Regions from separate parts of the Homo sapiens genome. Here regions 2, 3, 4 and 5 are each linked to region 1. Evidence: promoter capture Hi-C in 16 types of primary human blood cells and fetal thymus (Javierre and others, 2016). All regions are on one chromosome and are shown on one strand. The core of a region is centred on a gene start or on the middle of the fragment in contact, and the rest is flanking DNA. Distances in the headings are between cores, read along the strand shown. Region 1 holds the start of UTP6 (UTP6 small subunit processome component). Region 2 holds the start of NF1 (neurofibromin 1). Region 3 overlaps NF1 (neurofibromin 1). Region 4 overlaps NF1 (neurofibromin 1). Region 5 has its middle 10 kb from the start of RAB11FIP4.

The links. Contacts are between HindIII fragments. The CHiCAGO score rates a contact against its expected background, and 5 or more counts as called.
Region 2: the fragment with the promoter of NF1 here is called in contact with the fragment with the promoter of UTP6 in region 1 in 1 of 17 cell types (erythroblasts); the score reaches 6.2 in erythroblasts.
Region 3: a contact is called between a fragment that was not itself captured here and the fragment with the promoter of UTP6 in region 1, in 1 of 17 cell types (neutrophils). The highest score is 5.4, in neutrophils.
Region 4: a contact is called between a fragment that was not itself captured here and the fragment with the promoter of UTP6 in region 1, in 1 of 17 cell types (M2 macrophages). The highest score is 5.5, in M2 macrophages.
Region 5: a contact is called between a fragment that was not itself captured here and the fragment with the promoter of UTP6 in region 1, in 3 of 17 cell types (M2 macrophages, M1 macrophages and M0 macrophages). The highest score is 8.5, in M2 macrophages.

What each region holds. Positions count from the first base shown.
Region 1 is chr17:31,900,190-31,903,069 of GRCh38, forward strand. It overlaps UTP6 (UTP6 small subunit processome component), which reads right to left and starts at 1,519. Exons shown (of 19, transcript NM_018428.3): 1 at 1,347-1,519. The coding sequence starts at 1,438. RefSeq lists enhancers at 994-1,143, 1,187-1,778, 1,464-1,513. The HindIII fragment of the contact is 12,725 bases long and covers 1-2,880 here.
Region 2 is chr17:31,093,575-31,096,454 of GRCh38, forward strand. It overlaps NF1 (neurofibromin 1), which reads left to right and starts at 1,403. Exons shown (of 58, transcript NM_001042492.3): 1 at 1,403-1,795. The coding sequence starts at 1,736. It overlaps MIR4733HG (MIR4733 host gene), which reads right to left and starts at 1,916. Exons shown (of 4, transcript NR_186435.1): 1 at 1,653-1,916. MIR4733 (microRNA 4733) reads right to left here and starts at 851; the gene lies at 776-851. RefSeq lists a promoter at 983-1,408, cis regulatory regions at 1,016-1,255, 1,482-1,792, an enhancer at 1,396-1,413 and silencers at 1,648-1,717, 1,758-1,807. The HindIII fragment of the contact is 8,302 bases long and covers 1-2,880 here.
Region 3 is chr17:31,331,499-31,334,378 of GRCh38, forward strand. All of the region lies in intron 39 of NF1 (neurofibromin 1), which reads left to right. Among named protein-coding and RNA genes, the nearest start is that of EVI2A, 11 kb to the left of the region's middle. The HindIII fragment of the contact is 1,986 bases long and covers 454-2,439 here.
Region 4 is chr17:31,359,234-31,362,113 of GRCh38, forward strand. It overlaps NF1 (neurofibromin 1), which reads left to right. Exons shown (of 58, transcript NM_001042492.3): 57 at 1,254-1,470. Among named protein-coding and RNA genes, the nearest start is that of RAB11FIP4, 31 kb to the right of the region's middle. The HindIII fragment of the contact is 581 bases long and covers 1,055-1,635 here.
Region 5 is chr17:31,379,802-31,382,681 of GRCh38, forward strand. No RefSeq gene overlaps it. Among named protein-coding and RNA genes, the nearest start is that of RAB11FIP4, 10 kb to the right of the region's middle. The HindIII fragment of the contact is 2,301 bases long and covers 196-2,496 here.

The DNA of each region.
Region 1 (2,880 bases), core at 269-2,768:
GTTCATTTTTAAACTTTCAGGAAAATCATCTTAATCAACTCCCAAAACCAATGACATTCCCACCAGCAAAGCAAATACAATTAAGAACTTTATACCATTTATGTATGGTGTTTTTTTTGTTTGTTTTTTTCTCGCTCTGTCGCCCAGGCTGGAGTGCAGTGGCATGATCTTGGCTCACTACAACCTCGGCCTCCCGAGTTCAAGCGATTCTCCTGCCTCAGACTCCCGAGTAGCTGGGACTACAGGCGCTCACCACCACGCTCAGCTAATTTTTGTATTTTTAGTAGAGACGGGGTTTCACCATATTGGCCAGGCTGGTCTCGAACTCCTGACCTCGTGATCCACCCACCTCGGCCTCCCAAAGTGCTGGGATTACAGGCGTGAGCCACAGCGCCTGGCTGGTATTAATAAAGACTTCTTTTACTCCAAGTTCAGGTCACTTAAATTTTAATAATAAATTTCTTTCCGAAATTCCTCTTATTTCTGAGTTCTCAACATGTAAATTTTTTTAAAAATCTAAATTGCGTCTGCCTTAAAAGACTTATTACTACGAAGGACTTACGGGAGAAGATTCAGAGTCCTTAGCTAAGGAATGAACATATGACAAATATATATTAGGAGAATTTAATGCAAGATGTGCAAGACAGGTGTCTTTAGTAATGGTAACATTAACCTTAACTGAGCACTTTCTAAGCGTCCACACTGCTTTGTTTTGTGTTTCATTAACGAATGCTTACTTTGAAGCTCTGAGTCACATTACTACATTCAGACGTTGCAAAACAAAGCAACAGTCACAGAAACCATTAAAAACTATTAAACATAATTTTAACACGCTACTGAATGTCTACCATGTGCCAGGCGCTGTAGTTAGGCTCTGGAGTAGCATATGAAACTGATTTCAATGGTCCCCACCTTCAAGTCTAGTTAGGAATTTATCCACTCCCCCTGGGCTCTCACAGCACTCTGTTCCCATCCCTACAGCAGTACAAGGTACTACAATCAACTTACAGTACACTGTTATCAAAATATTTAATTTGTCTGTCTCCCCCACCACACTCTGCCCAATTAGCTCCTAATGAGCAGGAATCCTGGGTTTATCACCTTTACAGCCCTAAGACCCGGCTCCATGAAGGGCTGTCAAAACGTCTGATGGGTAAGTAGACGGACGGATTACCTTGCAACGAATGAAAAATTAATTCTGGACATCACCGAAAACGAGAAATGGGCTTCCACCACGTTAGGAAAAGTAAACACAGGTCGAGCGTCCCCACATCTAGCCCCTGCCACACACTCCCAACCTCCCCTCAGGCCGCCTCAGCTCTTCCCTCTCCCCAACCCTCTCTCACTTAATCTCCGCATGACTGAACAGTCCAATGCGCTCCAGCTGTTCCAATTCCGGGAGCCGATCTTCTATGCGTTCCTGAATTATCTCTGCCATGAGGTCCGAGGTCTACAACCCCGCGGGTAGCTTCTCAACAGCGAACACGAGCAGGAAGCTCCCGGTTTCAGGTTCGGAGACCCAGCCCTACCACCGACGCGTCCGGACGTAACGTGCTCCCTAGGTCCCGCCTTTTCCGCTTCCGCCACCTCCTACTTAGGGGAAGGCCCTTCGGCTTCTACAGCCACCGTCCCCTCCCTGTGGCCGATTGTGGGATTGCAGCGAGAACCCGCCCTGGTCTTGGGCAGGACGACTCTAGCGGACAGGAGTTGAGGGGCGGGGCTAGACGGGAGGGAGGGGTTAAGTGCGCGCGCCGCTAGACTTGGACAGCCATCAGGAAAAGCGCCTCCAGGTGTAGAGAGGTGGGCTGCTCAAGCCTGAAAGGGACACGAGATGCATTTTCTTCAGAATATTGTCTCCCATCCCACGTCCTGACTTCCCAACACCAAGAACAACAACAAAAAAAAAAGCAAAGGAGGAGGATATTGTACAATTAAACATTTTTGAAAGCCGGTCGCGGTGGCTCATGCCTGTAATCCCAGCAGTTTAGGAGGCCGAGGCGGGCAGATCACCTGAAGTCAGGAGTTCGAGACCATCCTGGCTAACATGATGAAACCCCGTTTCTACTAAAAATGCAAAAAAATTAACTGGGCGTGCTGGCACGCGCCTGTAATCCCAGCTACTCGGGAGGCTGAGGCAGGAGAATCGCTTGAACCTGGGAGGCCGAGATCGCGCCATTGCACTCCAGCTTGGGCAACAAGAGTGAAACTCCGTCTCTAAATAAATAAATAAATAAAATAGAATTGTTTATTATTTAAATCAATATCCTGTCTTTGTAAGCAATAGCTTTCAAAATATATGTCCCTAGGTGAATATCAGACACTATAAATTCTTTTTAGAAAAGGAGATTTTTGTATTGAAAAGTTTGAGAATTACCAAAATAAATCACTAAGGTATAGACACCCTCCTTAAACCATTGCCCAAGCAACTTAGCATTTCTAAGAGAAACACCAGGCAACACAGCTTGGAGGCAATATTGCTGGTATAGTTAGTAAACCTCAAATGATAACTACATGGTTCAGTTCTTTTTTAGTTCTGGATATAAAAAAGCCAAAGCAGCAGTTCTTGCTAAATCTGCTTATTTCAACATTCACATTAGCACCTGGATCCTGTGTGTGATTTATGAAAGGAGAATGGGCTCAGCAAAACCATGTTCCACCTCTGTGCCTTGCATTTCTTTCTTTCCTTTCACATTTTACCCACTCATCTCAGAACTGAGACGAGGGTTGGCTTGTGCTACACCATTTCTTGAATCCTTCAGCTGTAAGACATGTCAGAAGTGGAAGGAAATCACGAATGTAAGACAAAGATAGAATTTATTTGTAAAAGTAAAATCTCTGGGGCTGTGTTAACAGTAAGAGTGGAGATGACACTAGATAGTA
Region 2 (2,880 bases), core at 153-2,652, 810 kb before region 1:
GCTCACACCTGTAATCCCAGTACTTTGGGAGGCTGAGGTGGGCGGATCATGAGGTCAGGAGTTCAAGACCAGCCTGGCCAATATGGTGAAACACCGTCTCTACTAAAAATACAAAAATTAGCCGGCTGTGGTGGCGCATGCCTGTAGTCCCAGCTACTCGGGAGGCTGAGGCAGAAGAATCACTTCAACCGGGAGGCGGAGGTTGCAGTGAGCCGAGATCGCGCCTCTGCACTCCAGCCTGGGTGACAGGGTGAGACTCTGTCTTAAAAAAAAAAAAAAAAAATTAGTCATTCCAAAGTCCAATGTCAGACATAGATTATCCGTTGTTTTGGATGTAATCCTCTTCCTGGAAAACTGGCACAACCCAATTACACATGAAATCCTTTCAACTCTGGTATTGGAGGTATAGGGAAGGACTTTGTTTTAGGAGACCCATAGTCTACCTCTATTGTTCTAGGAGTTAAACCACGTTGGTTTACATCCTGACTTTGCCACCTGTCAACTCAGACCTTGGGCAAATCAAAGGTCTGAGGGAGGAGTGCAGGCTCCCAGCGTTCCCACGGGGGTGGGGACGTGACGTATTCATCAGTTCATGAAGTTAATGATATGTATTGAAAAGGTTTGTTCAAGGATTTAAATAAGACGATGAATATATTGAATTAATAATGAATGCAAGGCCTTAAAGGTGTTTTGAGGGTGGTGAAACTTGAATCTCTCATCAACTGTGCAATAGTTATATTAACTTGGATGGCTATGAGTTTTGCAGAGGAAAGCTGGGCTTAAATCCCAATGCTAGACCTGGTGGCTAGACCTTGATTGCCACCGGGTCTAGCATTGGGATTTAAGCGACCTCTAAAAAAAAAAAATCACGGAATCTCTCTTTGGCCTTCCTTTTTTGTTTCTCAGCAGTCTACCAAGCTACGAAGAACCTGAAAATCGGAGGTCGTGTACCTTATTTTTTCTGAGAGCTTAAGCTGAGAGCACAGCCTCCCCAGGAGATTAGCGGCAGAGATCCGCGCGCTGGGAGAAAGGCTAGCCCCAGGGCGCCCTAACTTCCAACTCCGGGAGCAATCCAAACCCGGAGGCCGGCGGGGGAGGGGACAGCTGTAGGGGGCGGTGGGGATGGGAGTGGATGCTCCCGGGTCAGCTCTGGCACTCGCCAGCTGAGCCCAGCGCCAGTCTAGGTGAGCCCCACGGCGGTGAGGGACGCTCGCCAGACGGCCCAGAGGAGTTAGATGACGTCACCTCCAGGAGGACTCGCTTTTTCATTAATGAAACCGGCCGGCGCGGGCGCATGCGCGGCAGGCCGCCTTCCCTCTCGCTTCCCCCTCCCCTTTCCCAGCCGCGCTCTCAATCTCTAGCTCGCTCGCGCTCCCTCTCCCCGGGCCGTGGAAAGGATCCCACTTCCGGTGGGGTGTCATGGCGGCGTCTCGGACTGTGATGGCTGTGGGGAGACGGCGCTAGTGGGGAGAGCGACCAAGAGGCCCCCTCCCCTCCCCGGGTCCCCTTCCCCTATCCCCCTCCCCCCAGCCTCCTTGCCAACGCCCCCTTTCCCTCTCCCCCTCCCGCTCGGCGCTGACCCCCCATCCCCACCCCCGTGGGAACACTGGGAGCCTGCACTCCACAGACCCTCTCCTTGCCTCTTCCCTCACCTCAGCCTCCGCTCCCCGCCCTCTTCCCGGCCCAGGGCGCCGGCCCACCCTTCCCTCCGCCGCCCCCCGGCCGCGGGGAGGACATGGCCGCGCACAGGCCGGTGGAATGGGTCCAGGCCGTGGTCAGCCGCTTCGACGAGCAGGTAACCGGCCCGTGGCGGGCGGGAGGTGGGAGCGGAGTGGGGGTGGGGACAGAGTAGGTGAGGGGAGGTAGGAGCGGCCGCCTCCCCCGCGGCTGCCTCAGGCTCTGGAGGAAAGGAAGGGAAGGGAAGAGAAGGGAAGGGGGGATAAGTGGGGGTGGCCAAGGCGGGAGGTGAGGGGTAGGAGGGGACAGCTGGGAGCTTGGGCACCCTTTCCCTCCTAAGTCGGGGGGTGGGGCCTTGTCCCTGACCAGCCTCCGACCCTCCATCCCCTTTATCCCAGCCCTTCCGCTTGGAAATGGGGATGAGTGACCTGGGGGCGCCTTTAGGGGCGCGCCATCTGGATTTAATAATTACCCCCTTACTTTTGTTTTTGAGCAGAGGTGGGTAACGTTTAGGGGTTCTCTCTTCCTCTTCCCTCCGTGACCCTCCTAACTGGGGACGAGCGAACCCTAAGGCCTGTCTTATATACCCTCAATAGGAGAACGATAACATTCCGCCCCTCCCCCAGTTTCTTCAGCTTCCTCTCCTGGAGGGGGAAGAGCAGAAGAAAGCAAGGAAGGCACAGGTTTTCTTACTTTCTGCTCCATCGTCTCATCCTGCCCCGAGAGCTTCAAGTGCACACTCACTGCACATCTTTGTGATGCCCTACAACGTCGTCCCCCATATCCTGATGACACAGACTGCCTTTTTTTTTTATTGCCGTTTGCAGTGGAAACCGTGGTTCTGAAATATCTTCCCCTTCCTTGATAATTGCAGTCTCTTCCCCCCCCCCTTTTTTTTTTGCCAGCGGTCTGAGGATGTGATGCATTCTCGAGTGAGAATGTTGGGGAGTAAAGGGGAGAAGGGTGAAAGGAAAGTGAGAAACTGCTTCAGAGCCACCGACAACAGAGCAAAGCCAGCTGGGATGTGGTCCTGGAGCGGATCATTCTGCTAGTGTTTGTGGTTGTTTTTGACTCTCTCCTGGTTGACAAGAGAACTTTCATTGAGAATATTTGGGATGAAAAAAAAGTTTTGTAGCTTGAGGAGGTGACTTTTTATCGCCTGAGTTTCACACAATAAATCCTGGGGCTGATTAGAATAAATGC
Region 3 (2,880 bases), core at 197-2,696, 570 kb before region 1:
ACTTAATAGTACAGATGTCTGAACACTTTATAGCAGTACAATAATTAAAACATACATGTGCAAGAATCAGCCATCAGATCAGTTTAAGAGAAACAGATTGATAAAGAAGCATCACAAACTGATGAGGGAGAGATTAAATCATTTAATAAATGAGGCTGGGAAATGACTTAAATTAGGTCTTCGTCTTCACCGTACACCATAAGATACCAAGTATGTTCTGCCTGTATTTAAGAGTTGAGTAGGGCTGTGTGTGGTGGCTCTCGCCTGTAATCCCAGCACTTTGGGAGGTTGAGGCAAGAGGATTGTGGCAGGAGGATTGCTTGAGCCCCAGAGGTCAGGGCTATAGTGAGCTATCATCGTACCACTGCACTCCAGCCTGGATGATAGAGTGAGACCCTTCTCTATTAAAAAAAAAAAAAAAAAAAAAAAAAAAAAAAAAAAGTTGTATATAAAAGCTTGGAACCATTTTAAAAAGAAGAGGAACAAGTGAATATTTAATTGCTTTCTAGATGAGTAAGGACATATGAAGTAAAAAAGTGATAGGATGAAACAAAGGAAATAGCGAACAGATTTGACTACATAAAACTTCAAAACATAGCTACTCAAAAATAAACACAAGTGAAGATAATTAAAAACTAGGAAATACACTTGGAGCAAATATGAGAAATGATTAATATCCTTAATCGGCCAGACGCGGTGGCTCACGCCTGTAATCCCAGCACTTTGGGAGGCTGAGGTGGGTGGATCACAAGGTAAGGAGTTCGAGACCAGCCTGGCCAATATGGTGAAATCCCCTCTCTACTAAAAATACAAAAATTAGCCGGGCTCGGTGGTACATGCCTGTAGTCCCAGCTACTCAGGAGGCTGAGGCAGGAGAATTGCTTGAACCCAGGAGGCAGAGGTTGCAGTGAGCCGAGATCACTCCACTGCACTCCAGCCTGGGCAACAGAGGGAGACTCTGTCTCAAAATAAATAAATGAATGAATAAATGAATGAATGAATGAATAAAATCCTTAATCATGAAGGGTGCTGACCGATTAATAAAAAGTGGATTAACAGTAACATACAGATCATGGTTTTTTTTTTTTTTTTATTATACTCTAAGTTTTAGGGTACATGTGCACATTGTGCAGGTTAGTTACATATGTATACATGTGCCATGCTGGTGCGCTGCACCCACTACTGTGTCATCTAGCATTAGGTATATCTCCCAATGCTATCCCTCCCCCCTCCCCCGACCCCACCACAGTCCCCAGAGTGTGATATTCCCCTTCCTGTGTCCATGTGATCTCATTGTTCAATTCCCACCTATGAGTGAGAATATGCGGTGTTTGGTTTTTTGTTCTTGCGATAGTTTACTGAGAATGATGGTTTCCAATTTCATCCATGTCCCTACAAAGGATATGAACTCATCATTTTTTATGTTTTTTAAAAAAGAATATTTGTACAAAAAAAGAAAAAAGCCAGGCACCATGGCACATGCCTGTAATCCCACCTGCTCAGGAGGATCGCTAAGCCCAGGAGTTTGAGACCAGCCTGGACAACATAGTGAGGCCCCCATCTCAAAAAGAATATTTATATTTTAAGAAATTCACTAATAAAAGCCAATTGAAAGAATAGTGAGATAATCAGTTATCAGCTTGGCAAAGATTTTTTTTTTAAGATCCATTCCTGGTGGTCTGTGGAATTGTGAGTAGAGGCAATTTTTCTAGAAAGGCATTTGGAAGTGGATAACAAGACCTTAAGACTATTCATACCTTTTGGCCTCATAATTCTGCTTTTTAGCATTTATCCTAAAGAATTAATGTTAAAATGTTTATTATAGCATTATTTTTATGTAGATTTTTAAATTGAGGTATATCTTGTCATCAGTAAAGTGCAAGATCTTAAGTCAACAGCTTGATGAACTTCTACATGCAAATACATCATGAAAGTATCTCCAGATCTAGACATAGAACATTTCTAGCATCCAGAGGGATATTCTCAGTACCCTCCCTTCACCAAGAGTAAACACTATTATGACCTCTATTGCACAGATTTATTTTGCCTACTTTAGAACTTCATATGACATTATTTATAATAGCAAAAAAATGAACAGGCCAAAAGTCAAAGAATAAGGAACTGATTAAATTATTGGTTCTCCATCTGATGGAATAATATGAAGCCATTGAAAAATGGCTTTGTTACAGAATTTCAGTTTGGAAGATGAAAAGGTTCTAGAGATGGATGGTGGTGATGGCTGCACAATGATTTGAATGTACTCAGTGCCACTGAACTGTGCCCTTCAAAATGGGTAAAGCCACGGAACTGTACATTTAAAAATAGTTAAAATGGTAAATTTTGTGTTGTGTATATTTTACCACAATTTTAAAAACTCTTTGAGACTTTAGGTAAAGTGTATAGATAAATTTTTGTACAATTTTTGTCTTATAAATGTGAAGCTTTTTCAAGTAAGTTTAAAAGAAGTTTGCAGAATTTGTAATGTTGAATAAATAATCTCAGTATAGGCCAGGGGTGGTGGCTCACGCCTGTAATCCCAGCACTTTGGGAGGCCGAGGCGGGCAGATCACGAGGTCAGGAGATTGAGACCATCCTGGCTAACACAGTGAAACCCCGTCTCTACTCAAAATATGAAAAAAAATTTGCCGGGCGTGGTGGTGGGCGCCTGTAGTCCCAGCTACTCGGGAGGCTGAGGCAGGAGAATGGTGTGAACCTGTGAACCCGGGAGGCGGAACTTGCAGTGAGCCGAGATCGCTCCTCTGCACTCCAGCCTGGGCGACAGAGGAGACTCCATCTCAAAAAAAAAAAAAATGAATAATCTCAGTATAATCACTGAAAAAAATATTCAGAGCCTACTGCATGTATAGCATAATCCCCGTT
Region 4 (2,880 bases), core at 95-2,594, 540 kb before region 1:
TTATGATCAATTTTTCAGAAGAGTATGATAAACCTCTGTGATACTTTTCTGCCACAGTCCCTTGTGTATTTGATAATCTTAATGCACACAGTTAGATATCTTATGACTAGCAAGGAGCATTACCATGGTTAAAATCTATTTCATGAAAACATTTTTATTTCCAGCCTATTAGATTAGATTAATTTCTCTCTGGATTTGTCCTCATTTGCTCTTATTCAGTTTTTTTGTTTGTTTGTTTGTTTTGTGAGACGGAGTCTCACTCTGTCTCCAGGCTGGAGTGCAGTGGCGCAATCTTGGCTCACTGCAACCTCTGCCTCCCAGGTTCAAGCGATTCTCCTGCCTCAGTCTCCCGAGTAGCTGAGACTACAGGCATGCAGCACCACGCCCAGCTAATTTTTGTATTTTTAGTAGAAACAGGGTTTCACCATGTTGGCCAGGATGGTCTTGATCTCTTGACCTCGTGATCTGCCCACCTCGGCCTCCCAAAGTGCTGGGATTACAGGCATGAGCCACCGCACCTGGCCTCAGTTTGTTTTTTGATTGGCATTAGTTTATGTAGTGCTACATAAGATGTATATGATCATTTTCTCTGTATGTGGGCTCTCTCCAAATTGATCAAAGTTCCTTGAAGACAGGGTTTCTGTTTCTTCCTTAAACAGTTCCTGGTGCAGTGTTTTAGATACAGGGGGTGCTAAATCAATATGAATTGTATAAACCTTGTTCCAGTTTTTAAGAATTGGGTATTTTATTTATTTCCTTTCACTATTACTTGAATATCTGTCAACATGCAAAGGTTGTCACTTAAAAAATGGGCCTGAAGTTACAGAAATAAGTATATCATACAGAAGTTTTTGCATTTGGATTGCCAGTAACCCTCTGAGCCCTTTACAGTGTCTAGTGAGTGGAATCTAAATGGCAGCTGGAATGATGATGCTCTGCTCATTTTCTCTGTTTTGGAAAATTGGCTAGACATCATTCCTGGTGATTGTATTGTCTCAGTATTACATTCAGTCTGTCTTGTGCATGGCTTTCAGAAAATGCAGGTTCATCTGGAAGCTTTAAGCTGAATAGAACTCCCTGTTGTAAGTCCTATGGTAGTCTATAAATATTACTCCACTCCCCTTTTTTAATGATAAGTAATACAAAGGAAGAAAAATAGTAAATTAAGTCCAAACAAAATTAATATTTTTGGCTTCAGATGGGGATTTACTTAAAAAAAAGGAACTAAAATAATTTCCTATTTTCCATTACAGCAAACACAAATTCCAGACTATGCTGAGCTTATTGTTAAGTTTCTTGATGCCTTGATTGACACGTACCTGCCTGGAATTGATGAAGAAACCAGTGAAGAATCCCTCCTGACTCCCACATCTCCTTACCCTCCTGCACTGCAGAGCCAGCTTAGTATCACTGCCAACCTTAACCTTTCTAATTCCATGACCTCACTTGCAACTTCCCAGCATTCCCCAGGTCAGTAAATGTGATCTTTATATGACTTTGAGCAACAATATAAGACACCAACATTAGGAATTCCCTTGTGATCAGTTTATAGCAAATTTTGCTCCTTTTTCTTATGAGATTCACCTTACATTTCTTCTTTACCTTGTAACTGACTTGACTTTTGTTATTCTATGAAGCTTTCTACTTTCAAACAAGTTGTACATAAGACAGTAAAATGTTAAAATGTCCACATGATATTCCAAGGTTGACAAGTTTGTAGAGTTTGGGCAGGAAGAGGAACTTAAAACACATTATTCTGTAAGTGAACAGAACTATAATTTATTTACTAGATATACTAACATTGCCCTAAGGGCCTCTTTCTCTGTCTCTGATACAGCATACTATATCAAAAAAAAAAAAAAAAAAAAAAAAAAAGAAGAAGAAGAAGAAACACAAAATCTATTAGGTACCTCACTTTCCTGCTGCCAGCAATAACTCAACCATCCATAGACCATCCTGAAAATCTGGAAGTAAATAAATAATCAAACAAAAAATTCATCTCAAGAAAATAACATCTTAAAGCCCATAAGCATATATATACCAATTCGTAATGCAACTTAGATTTGAATACACTGAGAAATACTAATAGCTAATAGCTCCAGTGGGACTGAGATAAACAAGGTGGGAGAAATGGCAAACCTACAGAACTCTGGACTTATTCAGTGTCATAGTGAATGGTTTCATACAACTCTGGTTGACCCTGGAGGTGCTATTCATTATAGAACTTAAACTATTGTGTGTGTTATTATGACAGTGAGTAATGAAGGAAAGCTTTTGTTATGGTTGTGTTTTCTATTTAGAAAGATATTCTTCTAAAATGGTTAAAAATAAAAGAAACTTTAGTTGTTTAACGTTCCATTATCTGAAAAGTTCACTTATGAAACACATCATTGTATAAGGAAAAGTTACTATATATAGTTCTTTTAAGTGTTAGCATAAATTTAAAAAAAATCCAATGACATAACTATTCTGTGATATTCAAGATCAATAAATAGAATTCCCAGTTTATGATCTCAGTTTTGCATGAACATTTCAACTTATGTAATTTTGAAGGTTCTGAAGAATTTGGCAATACCCAATTCATATTATAAACTATTATGTAATTAACTATATTCTATTAAATTCTGCTTAACAACAAAGCTTTGGTCAGCAGAGGAAACAAATTTTATTTCCACATTTGTCAGTCGCCTTACAAGTAATCCTTTTTTCCCCCAGAAGTAAGAGAAGTCTAACTTTTTTTCCCATGTAACAAGGTTTGTTTGCCCTCTGCCACTAACTCTCTAGTACAGTGTTTCTCCACGTGTGATCCCAGACCAGCAGCATCATTTGGGAGCTTGTTAGAAATGCAGATGCTGTAGTTTCACCTCAGATCTGCACAAA
Region 5 (2,880 bases), core at 96-2,595, 520 kb before region 1:
CCCATTGGCCACTTCCTCTATATAAAATAAGACAGTCACATTGGAATCTTAATAGGGCCCTTTCCTGCTCAGAAGTTCAGAAAGCATTGCCTAAATTAATATTTTTAAGGGAAGAAAATGTTGACAGATGCAACCTTAGCTGATTGTTCAAAAAAAGTTTTTCCTTTGGTTATAATTGTAAATACAAAAGAAGAAAGCTTGGCCTTTGTCCTCTATGACCTCATGACTTAGTGGGGAAAACAGCCACACAAACAATGACCACAGTGTCCCAAGGTGTGGGTGGGGTTTTTAGAGGGTCATGGAGTGACTGGCATGGTTGGCAACTGAGGAGGTGGGTCTTAAAGAATGACCAAGAAGTTTGTCCAGGTTGAAATGTGTCCAGTGAGCAGTTGAAAATAGGGTTTTGGAGTATTTAATGGACAGAAGGTAATCAAGTCCGTTAACAGACTGGCCCAGAGACGGATCACGAGGTCAGGAGATCGAGACCATCCTGGCTAACACGGTGAAACCCCGTCTCTACTAAAAATACAAAAAATTAGCCAGGCATTGTGGTGGGCGCCTGTAGTCCCAGCTACACGGGAGGCTGAGGCAGGAGAATGGCATGAACCTGGGAGGCGGAGCTTGCAGTGAGTGAGATCGTGCCACTGCACTCCAGCCTGGGTGACAGAGCGAGACTCCATCTCAAAAAAAAAAAAAAAAAAGAGAGAGAGGAGACTGGCCCAGAGAGGGCAAGTAGCAGATAAGTGTTTAGGCAGAAAGCAGCACACCACAGGAGATTGGCTTCTCGTGTTATTTTTCTCCATTCTTTTGTCCCACGTTGGGGAATGCAGCTTAATTTTCTACATTTACAAAGTATATGGGCCAGGCGCAGTGGCTTACGCCTGTAATCCCAACACTTTGGGAGGCCGAGGTGGGCAGATTACCTGAGGTCAGGAGTTGGAGACCAGCCTGACCAACATGGAGAAACCCCATCTCTACTGAAAATACAAAATTAGCTGGACATGGTGGCACATGCCTGTAATCCCAGCTACTCGGGAGGCTGAGGCAGGAGAATCGCTTGAACCAGGAAGCAATGGTTGCAGTGAGCCGAGATCGCGCCATTGCACTCCAGCCTGGGCAACAAGAGCGAAACTCCGTCTCAAGAAAAAATAAAAACAAAAAATACGTGAAGATATGCCTTAGCCCCAGATCACAAAAATAGCAACACTTTTTCTATCCTGGCAATTATAAATGTTTTGAGTCTGGCCCAAAGTTGAAGTAGAAAGAAATTGATGGTAAAGAGATACTTTCTTTGCAATTTGGTAATTTGTGAATGGAAGGCAGAAAGGAATTAGGTGATCTGTGCCTTCATTAAAAAAGACTCCACAAATACCACCCTTACTCATATCTAGGATTCTACAGGAGACAAAAATTCATTATCAAAATACCAAGTCTTTTTGAGTGTGCAGCAGTCATTCAGCAAAACATTTTCTGGGTGCCTTGTTGTCACTCAATTTGAGCACCAGCACCTCTTGGAAATGCTTTCTGATCTCCCATTGGCTGAGAGCCCTTCTCTTGCTTCTGTGACAGCTTCTCTATACAACAACTTTGTAATCATCAACTATCTTCCTATGTCCCTGGTTAGGATTATGAGCCTCCCAGTGTAGGGAACATGCTTTGTTCAAAGGTGCTCAATAGATAGTTGTTGAATAACACTGAAGGCTTTATGTTATAAAGAACTATATAAATAGAATGGGAAAATCCCCATACACAATAGCAACCCCAATGCAAAATCCCTAACAAAATAGAGGTGACCTGTGTAATAAAGACCTATTGAAAATTCTAATCCAGACTTTGAGATTTCACAGATCAGTAAAATTTCCAAAATACATTTCATCAACTTATGCATTTAGAAACAAGAAAAAAATATATCTAACATAGTTTTTTTGTAAAACGCCATTTCAACTCTGAGTAGTGGGGGAGGGAATCACAGGATAAAGTACAGTTCTTTAAAAGAAATTAGTTTTGCTTTATAAAAGTCACTATGTTGTCCTCAGTTTTCTCTCATTGCTGCTTATTTTTCTCCACACAGCACTGCTCAGCACGCAGGCATGTGAGGAAGCTGGGCTTAAAGGAGACTCCAGCAAATGGAGAGACAGACCACAGTCCTGGGTTGGAAAGCTGAATATCGTTGAATGCCAGATCTTCCCAAATAAATGAACTGGCTTAATACAATTCTGATCAAGATGCCAACAAGAAGAGAGTGTATCCAGACAAAATGATCTTTGGAAAATATTCTTCACCTTGTGGAATAAACAGGAAAGCATGGCTAACAACGGGTTGTCGAAAACTTCCTTATTAGGTAGTAAAACAAATTTTTAAATGCTTAAATACTAATGGTAATTAGAGTAAATATAAAGTGGAACAGGCTAGAAGGTCCAGATTATGCTTTGATTTTTTTATTTAAAAAGACAAGCATGAGTAACTCCCAAAGTGTATTGGCTTCAAAGCCACAAAAGCTTATTTCTCACCTCTGCTACATGTCCATCACCCGTTATCAGGAGGCTCTGCTCACCCTGATGTCTTGGGACTCCAGAGTGAGTGATCAGCCATCTCTGATCACTCACTCATTTGATCTACAAATGGCTAGCCATCATGCCAGAGGGAAGGAGCTCAGGCTGTAATGTCCAGCCGCTGTGATGATGGAAATGTTCTGCTGGAAGCTGAAACAGAGGGGTCCCATTTTCATTTGTCACATTAGCAAAGACGTACTTAACTAATATTGGTGCCAGTCCAGAATGTGGTGCAATGAGTTCTTCCTGCACTTGGCCTCATCTTTCTGTATTACCAGTTCCATATCTGCACTGTCCAGGACAGTGGCCACTAGCCACATGTGGCCAT